2 separate regions of the Homo sapiens genome follow, and region 1 is linked to region 2. The links are contacts of gene promoters, found by promoter capture Hi-C in blood cells and fetal thymus (Javierre and others, 2016). All regions are on one chromosome and are shown on one strand. The core of a region is centred on a gene start or on the middle of the fragment in contact, and the rest is flanking DNA. Distances in the headings are between cores, read along the strand shown.

Region 1 (6,596 bases), core at 3,255-5,754, 160 kb before region 2:
AGAGGATGGAACAGGATATAGAGTGGATATTAGCGAATTAGGCCCATACATCTGCGTGGGAGCATCTCAGAGAACGCAGGGGCGAAACGCCGGAAGGGCACACAAACCAAGCCCCGCCCCCGGGAACCCCGCTCCCACACGGAGCATGCTGGAGGCTGATAGGTTGGTTTGACCACGCCAGTTCCGCCTTCGCCTGCCCCCTTAGAGCCCCGCCCCCGCGCGGAGCATGCTGGGGACATACGGACTCACTTTCCTCGCCAACCCCGCCCTCCGGAGCTACCAGCAACAACCAACGGGCAGCGAGCAACGGGCGCGCGCTGCTCCCTTAGGAGGCGGTGACCATCTGCCCGTGTGCCCAGGGCCTCTGAGGGCGCTGGATGGCTCCGTTGTGTCCGGGTGGTCTCGGGAGCTGCAGGGAAGGGGCGGGAAAACTACACCGGACCCCATGGGGAGCGCAGAGGCGGAAAGGGAAGGGCCTAGGGACCTCAGATTGTTTTGAATCAAGGGCAGAAAGATCGGGTCGGAGGGAGGGAAGGAAATACTTCCGTGCCTTCAGAGGGAGTCTAGAGTCCCAGGCCGTGCCGGGTGGAAGGAACTGTGCAGCGTCCCAGAGGGAAGGAAGAAGAAGGGAAGAGAAGTGGACTCAGAAAAAGTGGAGGGGAAAGAAGGGAGATGGGAGAAATGGAGGGCAGAAGAGGCAACGTTCCCCAGCCCTATAAACCATAATGAGCCCATATGAGAAAGCAGAAAGGTGGGTGGGAAGTGGGGGGCTAGAAAGGAAAAGAAACAAAAGCTGTCTTGGTCTGAGTCAGGAGCCCAGCTGTTGTGACAGGAAGGGACCTCAGAGATGGCTTTCACAGGTGGCTGTGACTATAGCTCTTTCTGGTGCCTCAAGCTCCCTCTTAACCCCTGGGAGACTTTTACCTTTGGGAGAGATTTCCCTTTGGGTTAAGGAGGGGAAAGAGGGACAGAGGGACAGTGGCAAGGGATGCCAGGAGAAGGTGAGGGAGAGGACACATGAGTGTTAGGTTTTTGAAAAAAGACGAGGGTTAAAGACAAGAGAGTTGACCACTCTACAACACAGGTTTATTAACACAACCTACAGAGGTGGGGACCAACTTAATGCCAAAGCCCCACTAGCACTTACAGGCTGGAATCATTATAGGCCTGGATGAGGGGTCTGGAATGGTAGGACTTACTGCCCAAGAGGATGTTAATAAAAATATTTCTTAAACCTTTGTCCCAACAAGATGTGATAAAGAAGTCAGACAGTTGGGGAGGATGTTACTTACAGCCCAAACCCCTGCAGAATGTTTCACTGTGACCAGGGTCTATGAAATGGCAGGAAGATTTACAAAATAATACAGCTTGGACTAAAAATTAGGGCCCAGCCTGGGGAGAGCTAGGCACTGATTTTTAGAGAAGTCTATGTCTTTGGCTATGCCAGAAGCACTGCAATCTTATTTCAAGGGCTTCTGGATGTGGTGGACTAAGTCTAAGACTAGGGGGTCCAGAGAAGACCCCATCCTTAGTAACCCTTGTCAATAGGGAGACTTCTCACGGAATCTGCTCTTTGGGTTTGACCCTCTGTCTTCATGTTCATGCCTCATTCATCTTTGTTAGGTTTTGAAGGGAAGGTGAGGGTTAAAGAGTTGGCAGCTTAACAGCAACACAGGTTTATTGCCAGCACAAACCTGTGGAGGGGGGACCAGCTTAGTCTCAGAGCACGAGTCCCACTTACAGACTGGGACATTTACTATAAGGAAGAGGAAAGCAACACGAAGGGTGGCTGGGCAGTCAACAAGGACAGGTTTATTTTAGAAAATAAACTTGAGAGGGGCTTCTGGCCGAGTTAGCTCAGACTAACTTCTGTTACAGACTAAGGATATTTAAGGGTTTTGGAAGGGGTCTTATCGTAGGTTCCGAATGTTTCTGTGTGAGGGAAAGTTTATTGCGGGGTTGGAATGTCTCTGGTCGGAAGGGAGGCTGTCTCGGGGTTGGCATGTTTCTGGTCAGAGGGGTTTATCTTAGGGTTGGAATATTTCTGGTTATGCTGACATTAGCCATTAGGCTGATGTTTTGGGGCTGGATTTAGGCGGCTTTTAATGAAGGGGGAACTTAGAATGGTGGTATTTGTTCAAGATGGCAGTGCTCCTGCTCTGTCAGTTATGGGTCTGGACCGGGGGAGAAGGGGCAGTATAGCTTGCTCCCCTGCAGGATGTTGAAGATGTTCCTTGGGCCCTTCATCCAGCAGGATGTAATAGAGATGTTCCTGTGGTTAGGTGGTTAGGCAGTATTTTTTTATGACCTGAACCCCCATGGAATGTTTTATTCTGACCAGGTTCTGTGAAATGTTGGGAGACATCTGCGGCCATACTGTAAGGCTCTTGTGTTGGTTCGAACCCCGAGAGCTTGCCAGCAAAGAACACAAGGCAGTGTGGAGCAACACGCTGTTTTAATGAGCACCTGGGTGCAGATGGGCTGAGGCCTAAAATGGCGTCAGCCCCAGGTGAGGACGGGGCAGGGGTTTTATAGTCTCCTGTAAACAGGAAGTGTCCCAGTCTGATGTAACTGCTACATGGTACCCAGATGGCCTCTCTCTTGATCTTCAGGGGTACGTGTCTCCTGGCCAGCTCTCTTCCTGCTTCTGCTATCTTGCTGACACACGCTGCTAGCACAAGTGGTCTTGTGCCTTGGGACTGGGCCTGAGAAGGGAGGAGTTATTCATCCCCCCAAACTTTCAGGCCCCGGGGAGAATCTTTCACATACCACCCTGAACACGCCCAATCTCGTCTGATCTCAGAAGCTAAGCAGGGTCTGGCCTGGTTAGTACTTGGATGGGAAATGATCACAGGGAGGCTTACAAAATGGTATAGGATATCTTGTGGTTTAAGCCCATTCCCTCCGGGAAGACCTTGTTGGTTTTCTCCCTACAGAACCTGCTGTGTACAAAATGGTGTAGGATATCTTGGGGTTTAAGCCCATTCCCTGAACCTGCTATGACATTAACTGAACAGCTCCTGGGGGTGCATCCCAATAGGGAAGTTATTGAGCTCCCAATGTTTTCGTGAAGCTGCTTTGTCAACTGTGAAATAATTATTGCCCTGCCCACTCCTGGGGTTGTTAGAGACCCAGTGAGATACTAAAAGTGTGTTTAAAGCATGTAGGGTCTGCAAATGCAATAAAGTGTGGTCAGAAAGCCCAACTCACGTGGCTTTGGGGGCCACTGGTGAGAGAAGAGACTGGAGGCAGCCTGTTGTGGTCAGAGCCTCCTGCTATTGTCAATTTCTCCTCACTGTCCCCTTTACCAGGAAGGCAGTGTCAGTTTGATCAGCTGCCAGTCTGTTTGCCCTCATTCCCCCTGGCCCTGCCCTGAGTCCAGCGACCTGGATTTGAAACCTGCATCTGTCACTTACTAGCTGAGGGATCTTGGGCAAGACATTTCAGCCCTTTTCTGCTTAAATAGAGTTAAGACAGCCTATGAATGAAACTATATAAACCAAGGCATTTCTGACTCCAGTAGGAGGCAGCTGCTGTGAGGGAGAAGCCCTGGCCAGGAATCTGTTATAGTTATTTTGTCACCAACTGGAATGGCCTTGGGACAAAGCACAACAGCTGTCTTGACCTCATCAATAGCCTTGACCTCATCCCTCGTGTCATGCTGTGTCATCTTCAACATCTGTCACTTCCATCAGCCTTAGCATTGGCCTTGGCCTCAGTTTCCTCATGTGTGACTTGAGGATGATGATTCTTATAGGAATCAATAAGCTTGGGATAAAGAAGCTATTGGGTCACATTATACATACTTTAAATGCATTAAGTGGGGTCTGCAGTTCCTAGAGATTAGCAGATTGCATTGCGTGAGAACAGAGCCATAGAGAATGTTTGAGGTCCCATTAATAGCTGATAGGAGGCTGATCAGTAAACACTGGGAGGGGAGGATTGACTCTTGGGTGAAGAGTTGGAGGAGGGTGGAGGATTGAGTCTTGGGTGAAGAGTTGGAGGGTGGAGGATTGAGTCTTGGGTGAAGAGTTGGAGGGTGGAGGATTGAGTGTTGGGTGAATTGAGTCTTGGATGAAGAGTTGGAGGGTGGAGGATTGAGTCTTGGGTGAAGAGTTGATTGGAAAACAAAGCTGAACAGAAAACCAGGGCATCATCAACACTGATGAGTAATTTTTTTTCTCTATAAAATGATTATTTAGATTAAGAAAAGGAATGACAAATTTTGAAAAGCCGACAAACACCACAAACTCCAGAAAAAAAAGAATCCTGACATTTTTACTAAGTGACAGACACACCTTCGCCTTTAAAACACTCTGTCCCCCCCATATTTCTTGGCTGCAGACTCTTTGATCACATTTTCGTGTGACAGTGATTTTGTAATATTTTCTATGGGGAGAATAGAAAGATAATTCCGTCTCTCCTTTGGCAGTAGGCATGTCCCTGTGAGGGAGGAGATCAGCAGGATTTTTCCAAGCACCTGTCAAAACCCTGCTGATCAAAACAGAACATAACAATAACAAAGAATGGCCAAAACCAGCTCGGAATAGGAATTAAAATGCATTTGCATAAGATACTCCCACCAGGGCCATGACAGTTTACAAATGATCCCACGGCAATAACCCAGGAATTATCTTATATGGTTCCAGGAACTTCCTGTTCCTAGTTTATGAATAACCTGCCTCTTATTTAGCATATAATTAGCAGGGGGTATAAATATAGCTAGCCAGCAATCCTGGAGTGCTATTCTACCTGTGGGGTAGCCCTGCTCTGTCTGTGGAGCAGCCATTTTGCTGTACAATGTTGCTTTAATAAACTTGCTTTGCTTTCAGTTTTGTCTGTTAGCTCACTCTTGAATTCCTTCCTGAGCAAAGCCAAAAACCCTCCCCGGCTGAGTCCCGATACGGGGATTTGCTTACATCAGCCAGAAGTAATTTATGCACAAAGATAACTATAGCAATTTTTAGTAGATACAGAAGTGACTTCAAAGCCCAGAAATGTGTCCCACTAAACTCATACAAAATGATCCCCAATTTTACCTTCTCCCTTAGCCATATCCAAAATAGCCACAGCCATTCCAACAGGACAGACGCGTGACAGAGGGAGAATATGAACTGAAAAGAGACACTAGGCCTCAACCAACTTGTAAAAATGTCTTCTACATATTTTCCAAAAGCACATGACAAAAGCATTGATAGGGCTCCTCCCAAGGCAAAGAGGGCCCCTGAGGGTTAAGCTTAATGTTGTCTCTGAAGCCACCTCTGCTCTGAATAATCGCAGCTGCACCGGTTGCAGCTCGCTCTTCCCCCAACATGTCCCACCTCACCCTCTCAACAATACAGTGGGGATGTTCTGAGATTTGTACCCACCGCCTAAAAGAACCCTCCTCTGGGTGGGATGAGATTCTCTGGCCCTTAGCAGGGCTCTAGCCTGCCCTGTCCTCTCCTACACATGCACCGGCAGTAAAAGCTGAACTTTGAACCACAGGTGCACTTCTTGAAAGGGGGCAGAGTGGGAGGCAGAAAAAACACGTTGGATCCTATACATGCCTTTGGGAACCCCCAGTGAACTCTCGGGGTTCCGTGTCTGGTCATCTTTACACTCCCTTCTAAGACTGCTGGGAGGAGCTATTGAACACTCTTGCATGAGACATCCACAAGCATAAAAAACATGGCAGCGGGGGAGGGGAAATGAGAGAGAAAAAGAGGAGAAGAATTTGAATAAAAGACTGTAGCTTGGAAGAGAAGGCAGTGGGGAGGGGCACCCAGATCTGGCCATCCTCACTGTCCCCCTGTTGCTGTGCCAGAGGCTGGCCCTGCCAGGAAAGCGTCATACCTTACCTCAGTTTCCCCTTTAAAACAGGGTTGCTAATTCCTACCTCACAGGGTGGTCCTCATGAGGATAACATGAGATAATGTCTGGGGAAATTGCTTGGGAAAGTGTAAAAGGCCACTCACACAGAAACCCCTCATGACCCATGTGGCCAAAGTGGGGACGTGGACTTAGAGGCCCTGGACCCAGGCCTGGGCCCTGCCTTGCCTGTCTGGGGAAATGGTCCTGGCCTTTACTCAACACTGACCCTGCCTTGGGAGGAAGAGCCTGCCCAGGCCAATCTCCCACGCCCTGACCGAAGCAGGTGCCGTCAGACAGAGTCCTGGCTTGGGAGTCAGAGGGACTGAGCTCAACACGTGGGTACCCTAGAACCTGCGCCTGGATAACTGAGTTGCTGATGCAGCCTGAAGGGGTGGGTTGCCCCTCCACACCTGTGGGTGTTTCTCGTTAGGTGGAACGAGAGACTTGGAAAAGAAAAAGACACAGAGACAAAGTATAGAGAAAGAAATAAGGGGACCCAGGGGACCAGCGTTCAGCATATGGAGGATCCCGCCAGCCTCTGAGTTCCCTTAGTATTTATTGATCATTTTTGGGTGTTTCTCAGAGAGGGGGATGTGGCAGGGTCATAGGATAATAGTGGAGAGAAGGTCAGCAGATAAACACGTGAACAAAGGTCTCTGCATCATAGACAAGGTAAAGAATTAAGTGCTGTGCTTTGATGTGCATATACATAAACATCTCAATGCCTTACAGAGCAGTATTGT
Region 2 (6,008 bases), core at 480-2,979:
CCCATTTCTGCCCCTGACCTTGGGTCCCTTTTAAACTTTCTCTGAGCCTTGCTTCCCCTCTGTAAAATGGGTTAATAATATTCAACATGTCAACAACAGCTATTGTGAGGGTCATAAGATCCTGGCTGAGAAAAATGACTGTGGTGGGTCTGGGAGTCGAAGACCCACTCCTGGGGTGGGGAGCAGTGTGCGGGGGAATGGGGATTCTGGGGACTGTTGTCAAAGAGGAAGCACCTGAGACTATTGGGGCATGGCCCAGACTCCCCCACCATGGCCCCCTGGGGGCTCAAACTGGTAGCCTGACCTTCCTGTGACCTGAGGAGCCGGAGGGAGAAAAAGGAACCAGCCCTTGCCGCCCCCAACTCTGCATGGCTGGTTATGGTCCAAGGGTTATGGCTCTAGGGTGGCTGGTCCCCATGGAGCTCAGGCTGTTGGCTTGGGGAGGGGCAGCCACTGCCTACCCCTTGGAGTCTGTGCCCAAGGCCCGACAGAGCATTAATGGGGCAGGAAGGCAGGTGTGTGTGGGTAGCATTGGAGGCACTCGAGCGCCAAGGCTGAGGGTGCTGAAGGCAGGTGGGCGGCTGGGGCAGAATCCTTTTTCCCAGGGACAGTGTGTTCTCCTGATGTCCTGTGATTGGGCCAAGGTCTGCGGAGGGAAGCTCTCCCACAAGCTGGGCAGCTGCACCTGAGGGGGGGGTGTCATGGGCAGAACACTGGGTGGAGGGGCCAGTCTTGCCATCAGCAGCAAGGAGGGGGCGGAGATTCCTTTTCTTTTTTTTTTTTTTGTTTTTTGAGATGGAGTCTCGCTCTGTCGCCCAGGCTGGAGTGCAATGGCACTATCTTGGCTCACTGCAACCTCCGCCTCTCAGGGTCAAACGATTCTCCTGTCTCAGTAGCTGGGATTACAGGCGCTTGTCACCACTCCCGGATAATTTTTAGTAGAAACAGGGTTTCACCATGTTGGTCTGGCTGAGTCTCGAACTCCTGACCTCGTGATCCACCCGCCTCCGCCTCCCAAAATGCTGGGATTAAAGGCGTGAGCCACCGCGCCCGGCCAAGGGGGCGGCCATTTCAAGAACACATTCCTCTTCCCTCCCGGTGCGCCTGAGAGGAGGCGCTTCATGTCGAAGTCAGCCCTGGGATGCAGAGAGTTGGGGGGCTCAGGGTCCTGGGATGGTCTCGCAGACACTCCTAGTTCTTCGCCTGCCCCTTCTCATCTCTATTTCTGTGGGGGCGGGGAGGGCAGACAGGAACAGGGCTACCCTTGAAGCAGGTTGGGGGAGGGGGATCCTAACAGGACCCCGGTGCCTGTGGACAGTGACAGGGTCGACAGCTCTGGGGCTCCACTCTCCTTTCCCTGAAGACCCCAGCTGCCTCAGTGGCTTCTGGCTTGCACCCAGCACCAGCGCAGATGCCCCGAGTGCCGGCGGCTCGAGGTCGGCCCGCCCGTCCGGACCTGTTTCCTCCTCTGCTCTCCTGCCAACGCCTGCCCATCTCTGTTTCCCCCACGTCCAGCACGCGCTTCGGGGACGGCCAGAGCCACCATGCCGACTGGAGAGACTCTCCTGATTCGGGTCCTTGTGTCCCGGGGCCCGGGCGGCTTCGCGCGGCGACAACCGGCGCGGTGGGACCACCGAGACGCCGGGACCTCCGCGCGGCCTAGAGTGGTCCCGGAAGTGCCCGCGGGCCGGGGGCGGGGCTCTGGGTGCTCGGGCGGCCGCGGGCTCCGCGTCAGCAGCTGCTGTGGAGCCAGGCAGCGTCGGCCGCGTCGGCCGCGGGTTGGAGCAGCTCAGGTGCGGCCCCGCCCCGCCCGCCTGCGGCCCCGCCCCGGCCCAGGTGAGCTGCCCCGCCCCGGCCCAGGTGAGTGGCCCCGCGTCCGCCGGTGTGACCTGAGTCCGCCTGACCACCTGTCCCTCCGGTGGCCCTGGGTGTGCGTGTCCCCAATCGCGGGGAAGCCTGTAGGGGCGCCACGTCGCCGCCTGGGCAGCGTGTGCGGGTCCGTGGCAACTCTTGGGCCCCCAGCCAGGAAACCTTGACTGCACTAAGAGTTTGCAGGGTGCCCAGGCCCTAGGGACTCTCTGGAGGATGGGATGACAGATGCAGGAGGACCCGGAGAAGGCCCCGACAGAGGTGGGAAGCATGGAGTTCCAGATCTTTGCATTTTCGGTCCAAAAACACTTATCATGTTGTGGGAGACAGATAAAGGGTTGCCAACTTTTTTCTGAGTGGAGACTTCAGGGTGTAGGGGCTATATAGTGGGAATGGAAAACCTCTACGGAGGGAAGTTTGAGAACACCAGGACTTAATGGGTGGGCGGAGGAAGAGTTGCAATCTAAAGATATCAAGAAAGAGAACTTGGAAGCCATGAAAATTGGGAAGAAAGCGAGGGTGGGGATGGGGTTGGGGGGTAGCTCAAAGCTTTCATGCACCTAGGTAGGCAATGTGGGCGGGTGAAGGGATATTGTCACATCTTCGTTTTTCAAGAGAAAGCCAGAAACCTACTGAGTTTTAAATATTGGTAACTAAGGAAAATGAACAGGAAAAGCCAAACTCTTCGAGAGCCAAACATAACATAGCAGGATCTTCAGGCTGCCAATTTGCAACCTCTGAAATGAAGGGTTTTGAGAAGGAGGTATTGGAGAGCAGTGCCAGATGGGGTGGGAAGGTGAAGACCGAGAAGAGAGGGATTGGCAATAAGGAGGTCATAGAATGCCAGAGCTGAGGTCCCAGCTGAAATCGGAAACTCGAAATTTGTCGTGGTGCCATACATAGTTGTATGATTTTTCTTGGCAACATTTAACAACTTAGGAGGAACTGGCCGAGAAGACTGGGACTTAGCGGCTAGTTGCAGCCGGACGAGGAGGTGAGGAGCATGGTGCTAGAGCGTGAGAGTTGAAGTGATGCGCATAGTATGGAGAGTCTAAGCTGGATGGAGAAGGGGTGGAGCTAGAAAAGGAGAACTACAGTAAAAATGGCTTGGATTTCATGAGGTCGAAAAGCACAAATTGAGTGAGAGAGCTGGAAGAGTTGGAGATTATGGGTTGCTGAAGAGGAGGGGGAGGGTGAGAGGAGTTGAAGTGATCAAAGAATTTTTGAAAATACTTTAGGGCTGGGCGAGGGGGCTCACGCCTATAATACCAGCACTTTCGGAGGCCAAAATGGGTGGATCGCATGAGCTCAGAAATTCGAGACCAGTCTGCACAACATGGCGAAAACCCATCTCTACAAAAAATACAAAAATTAGCCAGGTGTGGCACGTGCCTGTAGAGCCTGTATTCCCAGCTACTTTTTTTTTTTTTTTTTTTTTTTTTTTGAGACGGAGTCTCGTCCTGTCGCCCAGCCTGGAGTGCAGTGGCGCGATCTCGGCTCACTGCAAGCTCCGCCTCCTGGGTTCACGCCATTCTCCTGCCTCAGCCTCCCAAGTAGCTGGGACTACAGGCACCTGCCACCACGGCCGGCTTTTTTTTTTTTTTTTTTTTTTTTTTTTTTTTTGAGATGGAGTCTCGCTCTGTTACCCAGGCTAGAGTGCAGTGGCGCGATCTCGGCTCACTGCAACCTCCGCCCCCCAGGTTCAAGCGATTCTCCTGCCTCAGCCTCCCGGAGTAGCTGGGATTACAGACGCGCTGTAATTTTTGTAATTTTAGTAGAGACGGGGTTTCACCATCTTGGCCAGGCTGGTCTTGAACTCCTGACCTCATGATCCACCCACCTCGGCCTCCCAAAGTGCTGGGATTAGAGGCGTGAGCCACCGCGTCCGGCCTTTTTTGTATTTTTAATAGAGACAGGGTTTCACCGTGTTAGCCAGGATGGTGTCCTAGCTACTTAAGAGGCTGAGATAGGAGAATCACTTGAACCCAGGAGCCAGAGGTTCCAGTGAGCTGTAATCACACTACTGCACTCCATTCTGGAAAAAGAAAATACTTTAGTTCAGTGCTCTTTTTTTTTTATATCCAGTCGGTCTATTGGCTGAAAAATCATTTAAAAAAATCATTTCTGGGCTGGGCGTGGTGGCTCACACCTGTAATCCCAGCACTTTGGGATGCCAAGGTGGGCGGATCACCTGAGGTCAGGAGTTCGAGACCAGCCTGGCCAACATAGTGAAACCCCATCTCTACTAAAAATACAAAAATTATCCGGGCCTGGTGGCGGGTGCCTGTAATCCCAGCTATTCAGGAGGGTGAGGCAGGAGAATTGCTTGAACCCAGGAGGCAGAGGTTGCAGTGAGCCGAGATTGGGCCATTGCACTCCTGGCTGGGCAACAAGAGTGAGACTCCACCTCAAAAAAAAAAAAAAATCATTTCTGCTGGGCATGGTGGCTCATGCCTGTAATCCAGCACTTTGGGAGGCAGAGGTGGGAGGACTGCTTGAGCCCAGGAGTTCAAGACCAGCCTGGGCAACATAATATTATCTCATCTCTACAGAAAAATTAAAAAATTAGCTGGATGTGTTGATATGCCCCTGTAGTCCCAGCTACTTGAGAGGCTGAGGTTGGAGGATCAGTTGAGCCGGGGAGGTCAAGGCTGCAGTGAGCTGTGATTCTACTCCTGCACTCCAGCCTGGGTGACAGAGTGAGACCCTGTCTCAAAAAAAATTTTTTTTTCCAAGTAGAAATGAGTTCTGTTATGACTGTTCTGATTAATTTAGTTTTTTTTTTTTTTCTGAGGCAGTTACTCTCTAGATGCAGTATAAGGATAATTGTGCCTTTGTATAGAGTTGTGAAGATTAAATGAGGTGCCTTGAAGGACCTATTAGTGCCTAGCACAGAGTAGGTGCTCAGTGAATATGAGCTGTTGCTATCATTATTGTGTCACCTGAAGACTTTGCCTTTATCTAGCACAGAAGTTTCTGAATAGGGCTCTTTGGGGCTTCCTCAGGGGCCACATCTGGGAGGGGGAGTGCTGAGTGGGCTGTTCTAGCTTCCTTCCTTGTCCCTGCTAACGCGCCCTCCTTCAACTGGAGCAGCTCTGCTTTTGTCTGTTTTATTTTATTTTTATTTTTATTTATTTATTTATTTTTTGAGACGGAGTCTCACTCTGTTGCCCAGGCTGGTGTGCAGTGGCATGATCTCGCAAGCTCTGCCTCCTGAGTTCACGCCATTCTCCTGCCTCAGCCTCCCGAGTAGCTGGGACTACAGGCACCTGCCACCACGCCTGGCTAATTTTTTTGTATTTCTAGTAGAGATGGGGTTTCACCGTGTTAGCCAGGATGGTCTCGATCTCGTGACCTCGTGATCTGCCCACCTCGGCTTCCCAAAGTGCTGGGATTACAGGTGTGAGCCACCGCGCCCGGACTTGTCTGTTTTATTTATTTATGTCTCCTAGACCAGTGATCCCCAACCTTTTTGGCATCAGGGACCAGTTTTGCAGAAGACAATTTTTCCATGAATGGGTGGGGGACATGGGGGATGGTTTTGAGATGAAACTGTTCCACCTCAGATCATCAGGTGTTAGATTCTCATAAAGAGTGCACAACCAAATCCCTCGTATGCACAGTTTACGATAGGGTTCCAGTTCCTATGAGAATCTAATGCCACTGCTCATCTGACAGGAGGCAGAGTTCAGGCTGTAATGCTCGCTCACCTTCCGCTCACCTCCTGCTATGCGGCCTGGTTCCTAACAGGCCACAGACTGGTGCCTGTCCCCCACTCTGGGGGTTGGGGACCCCTGTCCTAGACAGTTGACTTATTTGACTAAAGTGTTCTTTGACCAAAAAAAGTGACAGTTCTAGAAAAACAAATGGCTTTTCCTCCATTTGATAATTTATTCAACAACTGTGTACATTGGGATTGTGCTTTTGTGCTGGGGGCTGGGGATTCTGAAATGAAGGAGCACAGTATTTGCCCTTAGGGAATTTTCAAGCTAACGATGGGGGCCTGAGATGGTCAAGAACCTGAGGGTGCAGAGAAAAAGGGACATTTGGACGAGTCCTGAAGGATGAGCAAGTGGCAGTCTGAGAATGGTCCTTACCTGTTAGGACCAGACAACAGCAGTGCAAATTAGTCATTGAGC

Evidence for each region. Contacts are between HindIII fragments. The CHiCAGO score rates a contact against its expected background, and 5 or more counts as called.
Region 1: a contact is called between a fragment that was not itself captured here and the fragment with the promoter of ZNF70 in region 2, in 1 of 17 cell types (naive B cells). The highest score is 5.5, in naive B cells.

The regions. Positions count from the first base shown.
Region 1 is chr22:23,907,691-23,914,286 of GRCh38, reverse strand. No RefSeq gene overlaps it. Among named protein-coding and RNA genes, the nearest start is that of MIF-AS1, 12 kb to the right of the region's middle. RefSeq lists an enhancer at 4,907-5,751. The HindIII fragment of the contact is 1,468 bases long and covers 3,771-5,238 here.
Region 2 is chr22:23,746,833-23,752,840 of GRCh38, reverse strand. It overlaps ZNF70 (zinc finger protein 70), which reads left to right and starts at 1,729. Exons shown (of 2, transcript NM_021916.4): 1 at 1,729-2,130. VPREB3 (V-set pre-B cell surrogate light chain 3) reads left to right here. Exons shown (of 2, transcript NM_013378.3): 2 at 1-98. RefSeq lists enhancers at 454-513, 1,354-1,413, 1,296-1,971 and a silencer at 1,564-2,013. The HindIII fragment of the contact is 6,484 bases long and covers 1-2,420 here.